2 separate regions of the Homo sapiens genome follow, and region 1 is linked to region 2. The links are contacts of gene promoters, found by promoter capture Hi-C in blood cells and fetal thymus (Javierre and others, 2016). All regions are on one chromosome and are shown on one strand. Each heading gives the region's core, a stretch centred on a gene start or on the middle of the fragment in contact. The rest is flanking DNA. Distances are from core to core; before and after follow the strand shown.

What was found. The method cuts DNA at HindIII sites, captures the fragments that hold promoters and counts their contacts. A CHiCAGO score of 5 or more calls a contact.
Region 1: a contact is called between the fragment with the promoter of XKRX here and the fragment with the promoter of ARL13A in region 2, in 12 of 17 cell types (neutrophils, naive CD8 T cells, fetal thymus and 9 more). The highest score is 10.9, in neutrophils.

What each region holds. Positions count from the first base shown.
Region 1 is chrX:100,926,664-100,931,690 of GRCh38, reverse strand. It overlaps XKRX (XK related X-linked), which reads left to right and starts at 2,774. Exons shown (of 3, transcript NM_212559.3): 1 at 2,774-3,721. The coding sequence starts at 3,387. RefSeq lists enhancers at 2,128-2,177, 3,371-4,570. The HindIII fragment of the contact is 22,335 bases long and covers 1-5,027 here.
Region 2 is chrX:100,966,130-100,971,140 of GRCh38, reverse strand. ARL13A (ARF like GTPase 13A) reads right to left here and starts at 1,433. Exons shown (of 8, transcript NM_001162491.2): 1 at 1,332-1,433. The HindIII fragment of the contact is 2,181 bases long and covers 1-2,159 here.

The sequences.
Region 1 (5,027 bases), core at 1,525-4,024, 41 kb after region 2:
AACAGTCATTGAGCATCCTTCCCTCACTAACTTTACATTTTTGGGGGGAGGCAGGACAAACACAGAAATAGTTGAAGGACTAGTATGAGAGAGCATGTGCCAGTAGCATGAAGAGAGAAAAATGAGGGTTGGGGAGGTGACAGAAGGCTTCTTGGAGGTGGGAGCACTTCGGCTGACCCTTGAAAGAAAGTTATGGTTTGGACTAATGGAGAAAAGGGTGAAGGGGGTTGTAAATCGCATCAACAAGGCAGAGGTGGGAGTGAGCAACGCAAATAGGAGAAGTGAGAAAACTGGCTGGCCTTGTGGAAGGAGTAGTGTGGGCAATAAAATCTGAGAGGGAAGTAGTGTGATGATTATATAGAGCCTTGAATGACAGACAGAAGGAGTCATTTTGGAACAAAGTAGGAAGGCATTGTAAATTTTTGTATTTGGGGAGAGACAAGGCCATGGAGAAGAAGGAGGAAAGGCTAAAAGGTAAACGTTGGGATTCTACATTCTTCTTCTTAGCTTTACTCTCCCATGTTTTTTTTTTTTTTTATTTTTAATTTTTATTTTTTTGAGATGGAGTTTCACTCTTGTCACCCAGGCTGGAGTGCAATGGTGCTATCTTGGCTCACTGCAACTTCTGCCTCCTGGGTTCAAGGGGTTGTCCTGCCTCAGCCTCCCGAGTAGCTGGGATTACAGGTGCCCACCACCACGCCCAGCTAATTTTTGAATTTTTAGTAGAGACAGGATTTCACCATGTTGGTCAGGCTGGTCTCAAACTCCTGATCTCAGGCCATTCACCCACCTTGGCCTCCCGAAATGCTGGGATTACAGGCATGAGCTACCGCGCCCGGCTGACTCTCTCATGTTTAGGGGGACCAACTCACCCTATCCCAGTGAAATGGGATTAATTGGTCACCTTGCCTGAGATTCACCTTGTGAACAGTTACCTAGAGCAGCCCCAAGAGGTTCTGCACCATATACTGGTGGTGGAGAACCTTGTCCCAGTTGGAATGTCCCAACTAATAAGAAAAAGAACACTCTCTGAAGTTGTTCTCAATAGTGTTGACCTCCTTCATGAAATGGAAAGGAGAAAGGAGCAGCCTCCTAGCCCAGCTGCTAGCATAGGTGCAGACCAAGATGCGGAGTCTGCTTCAGAAGGTGACAACCTTTAGATGTTGAATCTGTCCCTGAATCAGCCCTGGGGAAAGGAGGCAGCAATCATGGAAACCTTAAAAAAACAAAAAACAACATAATGACAGGACAACCTGGAGGCCATTATTTTGGTGGCTGCTACTTGGCCACTCCTCACATAGATTTGTTTTACTGACTTCCTGCAGCAAAAGGAGATTGGCACAGGCTCTGCTACATAATCATCATTATTATTATTATTATTATTATTATTATTATTATTATTAAGACGTAATCTTGCTCTGTTGCCCAGGCTGGAGTGCAGTGGCGTGATCTCAGCTCACTGCAACCTCTGCCGTCCGGGTTCAAGTTTTTCTCCTGCCTCAGCCTCCTGAGTAGCTGGGATTACAGTCACGCACCACCACGACCAGCTGATTTTTGTATTTTTAGTAGAGATGGGGTTTCACCACGTTGGCCAGGCTGGTTTCGAACTCCTGACCTCAAGTGATCTGCCTGCCTCAGCCTCCCAAAGTGCTGGGATTACAGGCGTGAACCACTGTGCCTGGCCTTCATCTATATTATTACCAGGAGGCAGATGTGTTCTCTTTTTCTCTGAGGTTTAGAATTATGCAAATGAAGATATGAAAACAAAAGCTCAGTGAGGTGGGGAGGATTACACTTAAGAATACAGGTAATTTTCAAAGCTCTTTAAGACACCCCTCTCAGTTTTTACTAACAGCTCTCTCTTGGCTCTTTGCCAGTCTGTTTAGAATTTGGCACCTCTTCATAACCTTTCAACCAAAGACCTGTAAGTTCATTCTAAAGCTCCTATCCTGGCCTCATTTTGCAAGTGGAGAAATCAAGGCATAAAATATGAGCTTTCAGTGTCTGTGGGCTGACCTTGAGTCTTGACCTTTATCCTGTTCTATCTTCCCTCCGCCGAAAACTCTGACCCTATTCCTCCCAGGTTCCCCCTTCATGATATTATCTGGAGGGCAATAGGACCTAGGGAGGTTCCACCCTGCGGCGGAGGGAGACACACCTGCCTAACAGCGTGGGTAGAGTGAGTGTTGAAGCAAGTCACTTAACTAGTTAGGGAGGGCGGGGTAGAAGTGGGGGCCTGCTGCTCCTAGGGAGGAGTAAAGCTGTGGCTCCTGCCTGGGTCTGGAGGTGGTGGTCAGAAGTGCTTCTGAAGAGCGGCCCAAGCCCCTTTTTGTCCCGCCACTCCACAACGAGCATCCCTCGGCTGGCCGCCTGCCCGGGAACTCTCCGGCTGGTTTTGTTTGGCCGCAGCCGTCCCGCCCATCTCGCCCGCCCCCGCCGTCCCGGTGCCTTAGTTTTTGAAGCTGCCGACCTCTCGCAGCTGGAATCGCAGACCAGGCAGGACCCTGGCAGCAGACGGCGTCCAAGAGTTTGGCGACCTCCGTCCAGCCAGGTTGGCGCCCCGCACATCGTGCCTCTCACTAGCAAAGTTTCTCCGAGGAGAAGCAGCCCCTCCAGCCTTTTCTTCATCCTGTAGAGCGAGCGCGCTCTGCTTCTGTCCCTCAACACTGCATTCGGAGACAGGGTGGTGACAATACTCCACTCCCGGGCCAGGCGGTCTTGGGGGCGGGGCTTGGGGGAATCCGAGGAGCTATCCTGAGAACCCTGGACTCGGCAAAGGTCCTGAGAGCGCGCAGGTGAGCGGGCCAGCTGATAGCTACAGCCTAGCAATAGCTAGGATACCTAGGCACTGAACTGAATCCCCTCTTCTGCCCTCCTTCTTCTGCGCCCGCTCTTCTGCCCTGGCTCAGCTCTCCGCTGACTTGAGAGGACACACTGGTCAGGACTCTTTGTGAGGAGCTGCTGAGTGTCGGTGCCCCCGACAGATCGGCTACACCCTGCCTGAGGGGCTGCGAAAGGAGCCGCCACGGAAGCCGCTGTTCTCATGACTCTTCACGTCCCTGGAGTTGGACTCTGGATGGGGCGCTGGGATGCTTGCTTTTGTCTTGTTCAAGTTTCACAGCAAGTATGTTGACGATTGGAATCGGGGCCAATCAAGAGTCAAGTTCAAAGTGGTACTCCTGGGCTTTCCATCCCAGACTCCAAGTCGAATCTGAGTCTAGAAGAGAGCGGTTTCTTGCTCTAACTAGTGAATCTCTGTTCCCAAACTGGACTTGACAGAGCTCTCCTCACCTATACTTGGACTGTAGCGGCCATAGGGTTCTCTTGGGGATGGGTGGGAGGGTGCTATGAACACAAGACCACAACATTCAGAAAGAACCTCGACAATGGACAGAGTTTATGAAATTCCTGAGGAGCCAAATGTGGATCCGGTTTCATCTCTGGAGGAAGATGTCATCCGTGGAGCCAACCCCCGATTTACTTTTCCATTTAGCATCCTTTTCTCCACCTTTTTGTACTGTGGGGAGGCTGCATCTGCTTTGTACATGGTTAGAATCTATCGAAAGAATAGTGAAACTTACTGGATGACATACACCTTTTCTTTCTTTATGTTTTCATCCATTATGGTCCAGTTGACCCTCATTTTTGTCCACAGAGATCTAGCCAAAGATAAACCGCTATCATTATTTATGCATCTAATCCTCTTGGGACCTGTTATCAGGTGAGCAACTTTTAAATCTTTTCCTTACCCCCCTAACCCCACCCCAGACTTGGGCAGAGAAAGATGAAAGATTTACAAGATGGATACTATGGCTCTAATCAATTCTCTCATTTCCTCCCACTCTCGGCTTCCCTGTCTACCATTCAGAAAACTTACCTGAAATCTTAAATGCCACCATGATGAACATGTGGTATGTACTTGTGTTCCAAAACAATGAACGATGCTATTTGGCCTGTGTAAACTAGAATGGGAACAACAAGACGTGATCACCCTGTGCATGAAGGCCATAGCTGCAGAGTGTGTAATTTTATTTAAAAAATTTTTTTTTTCTGAGACAAGGTCTTGCTCTGCCTCCCAGGCTACAGTGCAGTGGTGCGATCATGGCTCACTGCAGCCTTGATCTCCTGGGATCAAGCGAACCTCCCACCTCAGCCTCCAAGTAGCTGGGACCAAAGGAATGTGTCACCATGCCTGGTTAATTAAAAAAAAATTTTTATAGGCCGGGTGTGGTGGCTCATGCCTGTAATCCCAGCACTTTGGGAGGCTGAGGCGGGTGGATCACCTGAGGTCAGGAGTTCAAGACCAGCTGGCCAACATGGTGAAACCCCTGTCTCTACTAAAAATCAGCTGGGTGTGGTGGCGCATATCTGTAATCCCAGCTACTCTGGTGGCTGAGGCAGGAGAATCACTTGAACCCGGAAGGTAGAGGTTGCAGTGAGCCAAGATCGGTGCCACTGCACTCCAGCCTGGGCGATAGAGTGAGACTCCATCTCAAAAAAAAAAAAATTTTTTTTGTAGAGACGGGATCTCGTTATGTAGACTGGGCTCAAGTGATCTTCCTGCCTCAGCCTCCCAAAGTGAGCCACCGCGCCTGGTCTGAGTGTGTAATTTTGACTCTACCTTTTGGATGCTTTGTAAATTGGATAAAAGTTTCTTTACCCTGAGCTGCTTGGGCTGGTGCTACTGCCATTTTCAAATTTTCCAGAGTAATGTGACATCTGGAAACTATTTTAAACCATCTGTGGTAATCTGTACCCCAACCCAATATAGTTCAGTTCTCTGTCGGTTTATCAGTTTCCTATTTATCTCTTTGTATATTTCTGCAATAAAGATACGAAGTTGGGAGGGGGCAAAGGAAGGCAGTTCATCTCTCTATGTGGATGCAGTAGCACAATTTAATAGTATCAAGTATTTCCATTCAGATTGCCTTGAAGTGGAAAGAATGCACTTAATCCTAGCGAGATAGGCACCTGTGTCAACAGTCTCATCTGGATGCTATGGGGTTTTCAAGGTAGAGAGATGTTGC
Region 2 (5,011 bases), core at 184-2,683:
GCTGGATTTGGAAGTGAATGCCTAAGTAAAAAGGATAATTTAGGCAATCACTTCAAGGTTCATCCTTGGAAAGTGGATTGTTTCTACTTTTTGGCTGTTATGAATAATGCTGCTATAAACATTTGTATATAAGTTTTTGTGTGGATATGTTTTCTTTTCTCTTGGGTATATACCTAGGAGTATTACTGCTGGGTTATATAATAAATCTATATTTAACCTCTTGAAGAACTGCCAGACTGTTTTGCAAAGTGGCTACAACATCTTACATTCCCACCAGTAATGCTTGTTTTTTGTTTACAGCTATCCTAGTGGGTGTGAGGTAGGTATTTCATTGTGGTTTCAATTTACATTTTCCTAATGACTAATTATGGTTGACCCTTGAACAACATGGGTTTGAACTGCATGAGTCTACTTATACCAGGCTTTTTTTTTTTCAACCAAATGAGGATATTTGTGAATGTGAAACCCACGTATATGCAGGGCTAACTTTTCATATACATGGGTTTCGCAGTGCCAACTGCAGGATTTGAGAATGCACAGATTTTGGTATATGAGGGGGTTCAGGAACCCATTTCCCCCGAGTTTACTGAGGGACGACTGTATGTTGAAGCCCAAAATTGGAGGAAGCCCTGGTTGGGTTAGCAAAGTACTTCAGTTAATGCTTCGATGGGCTTTGCTTAGCTATCTGATGAGCACAGTTTATGTGCCAGCTTATCAATGGATAATTTATCAGGGTTCTGCAGAGTCATCCAGTCATTTACTGTTCTGGAGAGTTGCCATTCCAAAATACTAACATTTCATAGCATTTCTTATAGCACAGCTCAGACCCTAGGAGATCATTAGGTTTCCCATAAGGACCTCCTGGAGAATGGCTCTGGCTTATGCCAGACAAAAAAGAAACTTTATATATGGCCTGTGATCAAAACCAGCCTTACTCCAGTTTTGCACATGAAGCTGATATGACCAGGAGCCTGAAACATCAGAGCCTAATTGTCTGGGTTCCTTGATAGCCATCTCCCTTGGAGAAGAGGCCAGTAACCGCTTCATGTCTGTTTCCTAATAATTGGCAGAGCCTTCTAACTTGATGTCAGGCTCTCTGTGTTTGTCAGTGCCACCAAGAAGTGTCAAATTGGCATCACACAAGTTCTTCCTTTATAAGGAAGGGTAGGTATGAAAACCCAACTGGGAAAATGATTGAATTAGGGATTGCTGGACTGATCCTTTATTTCTAGTGCCTCTTCTGGGTAGCCTGAAGTGAAATCACCTCAACTAAACCTACCATTTCCAAATTTCTTATCTGTAAAATGAAGATAGTGACATATTTTGCTTACCATGAGGTGGTTATTTATCTGATAAGTTGATTCTTTTTGGATGGAAGACATAAGATATGCAGAGTAATAGGAAGACGCATTGAGCTTTCTAGCCTTCTTGTCAGATTAACACAGCTTAGGTTGTCCATTTATAAAAGCTATGGCAATGTCCTAATAATGGTTGTCACGGTACTGACATGTCTGTGGCAACCACTACCTGGTTCATAGCAACCAAACTCATATCTCCTTACCTTGTATGATTATAGATAATTACTAAAGGAACTTTAAGTCATCATAGTTTTTATTCATTTTACAAAATATTTATATAGAATTTACTTTGTGCCAGGGCTCATTAAAGCACTTTATACACATTAATTCATTTAATCCTTACTACAGCATGACAAAGTAGGGGCTATCATTCCTACTTTTCAGAGATGAAGTTGTTCACAAAGGGGTTACATAACTTGCCAAAGGTTACCTAGCTAATAAATGGTAAAGCCAGAATTCAAACCTAGGCATTCTGGCTTCAGGGTCTGTATTAGGTCAAAGGTCTTGCAGACCTCAGATACCAGAGAAACTGCCTCTGCTCTGCGTATCTCTATCTCTTCTAGCCAAACTGTATCATACTTAGTGAACTTTTTATAAAATGCTTTATTTTTCAGAATGGTTTTAGATATACAGAAAAATTGCTAAGACAGTACAGTGAGTAACCATCCCTAACACCCAATTTCCCTCATTGTTAACATCTTACGATGCTGTATTTGTTACAATTAATGAACCAGTATTAATACATTGTTATTAACTAAAGTCCATACTTCATTCAGATTTCCTTAGTTTTTAACTTAAGCTTCTCAGATTTTGTTTTGTTTTGTTTTTTGGAGACAAGGTCTGGCTCTGTGGCCCAGGCTGGAGTGCAGTAGTGTGATCATGGCTAACTGCAGCCTCAAACTCCTGGGCTCAAGCAATCCTCCTGCTTCAGCCTCCCAAGTACCTAGGACTGCAGGCATGCACCACCATCCTTGGCTAATTTATTTTTTATTCTTTTTAGAGAAGGGTCTTGCTATATTGCCCAGGCTGGTCTTGAAGCCTGGCCTCAAGTGATCCTCCCACTGTGGCCTCCCAAAGGGGTGGAATTATAGGCATGAGATACCACATCCAGCCACTCTATTTGTCTTTGATGACCTTGACAGGAGTGTTCATCAGGTATTTTGTAGAATACCCCTCACTTGTTGTTTATCTGATGTTTTTCTCATGATTAGACTGAAGTTATGTGTTCTTGGGAGGAAGGCCACAGAGGTAACGTGCCATCCTCATCACATCATATCAAGGATACATGCTGTCAACATGACTTATCACTGATGATGTTAACCTTGATCACCTGGCCGAGGCAGTGTTTATCAGATTTCTCCACTGTAAAGATACTCCCCCTACTTTCTATCCTGTACTCTTTAGAAGGAAATCAGTATGCATTGGCCATACTTATAGAATGGGGAGTTATCCTCCACCTCCTTGAGGTGGAGTATCTACAAAAGTTGTTTGGAATTCTTCTGTATGGGGGGGGGGTCTGTCTATTCTTACACATTTGTTTATTAAATCATTCATTTATACAGTATGGGCTCACATATATTTATTTTATCCTCTGATTATAATCAATACCTCTTTATTTTCTTGCTCAAGTCGTTCCAACTTTGGCCTGGGGAGCTCTTTCAGTTGACTCCTCCCTCTGACATACTCTCATCATTGTAGGTTTTTAAAAATTTTTATTATTCTTATTTTGAGACAGAGTCTTGCTCTGTCACCCAGGCTGGAGTGCAGTGGCACGATCTCAGACCACTGCAACCTCTACCTCCCAGGTTCAAGCAATTCTACTGTCTCAGACTCCCAAATAGCTGGGACTACAGGCGCACACCACCATGCCCGGCTAATTATTGTATTTTTAGTAGAGATAGGGTTTCACCATGTTGGCCAGGCTGGTTTTGAACTCCTACCTCAGGTGATCCACCCACCTTGGCCTCCCAAGTGCTTGGATTACAGGTATTAGCCACCGCATCCGGCCCACATACTTACTCTTAATTCTAAATTTTGAATTGGATCACAGACCAGGCCTTCAGCTAGGGTGACTTATGTATCTATTTGACCAGAACAGACTTGATGTGTGTTTTCCCCCAAGCCCATAGCCAAACTTGTATCCTAGCCTGTTTTCTTTCTTTCTTTCTTTCTTTTTTTTTTAAGACCAAGTTTTGCTCTTGTCGCCCAGGCTGAAGTGCAATGGTGCGATCTCGGCTCACTGCAACCTCCACCTCCCGGGTTCAAGCGATTCTCCTGCTTCAGCCTTCTGAGTAGCTGGGATTACAGGCTTGTGCCACCACACCTGGCTAATTTTTCTGTATTTTTAGTAGAAATGGGGTTTTGCCATGTTGACCAGGCTGGTCTTGAACTCCTGACCTCTGGTGACCGCCCCCGTCGGCCTCCCAAAGTGCTGAGATTACAGGCGTGAGCCACCGTGCCCGGCCTCCTGGCCTGTTTTCTTACGGTGTCTGGGCTTAGAATGGTTTTTACATTCTTAAAGGGTTAAAAAGAAAAAGAATATATGACAGAGACCGTATGTGTCTTCTAAAACCTAAAATATTTACTATCTGGCCATTTTTAGGAAAAATTTGCCAACCTCCATCCCAGAATCATTACTAATAGTGCCTCCTTTCATGCACAAAAGTGTCCAGGCTTGGATGATACTCTATATGAACACTTATCTTTATCTGAATGAGGCACTTTACAGTCCTTTGAAAGGTCTCAGCTGAAGGCTTTTCTAAATATGTAGATTGATTTTTGGCCAACTGGAGGTTGCGTTTTCCCTTTCTTTTCTCCATACTTGCCATCCAAGGGGAGCTGTCTATAGCTGAGATCTTGTGCTAGCCATCAAGGGAAGTAACCCAGTTGATACTGCTGTTTTTCTGTCATGCCCAGAAATGTGTTAGGTAGAGGAATAATTTACTGTACCTTTCCCCTATCTTGATTTAGTTGTTTTCTTATTTTATAGATGACTCTGAATTCATGTTATTTTCTTTGGTACCTGCTTAGAAGTATGGAGGAAAAGTTTTGACTGAAGAAGGTGAATGGAAATGTGACTGAGACAGGAAACGTGACTGAGACAGGCTAAATTCTGATTAGACCTTGTATTAGGCCATTCTCACACTACTATAAAGGAATACCTGAGAGCTGAAAAGAGTTTTAATTGGCTCTCAGTTCTAGTGGCTGTACAGGAAGCATGGCACCAACATCTGCTCGGCTTCTGGGGAGGCCTCAGGGAGCTTTTACTCATGGCAAAAGGTGAAGCTGGAGCAGGCACATCACATGGTGACAGCAAGAGCAAGAGAGTTGGGGGGACGTGCCACACACTTTTAAACAACCCGATCTTAGGAGAATTCACTCACTATCATGAGGACAAACCATGAGGGATCCACCCCCATGACCCAAACGCCTCCCAGCAGGCCCACTTCCAACATTAGGGATTACATTGCTTTTTTTTTTTGAAACGGAGTTTCACTCTCGTCACCCAGGCTGGAGTGCAGTGGCGTAATCTCAGGTCACTGAAACCTCCGCCTCCTGGGTTCAAGCAATTCTCCTGCCTCAGCCTCCCAAGTAGCTGGGATTACGGGCACCTGCCACCATGCCCAGCTAATTCTTATATTTTAGTAGAGACA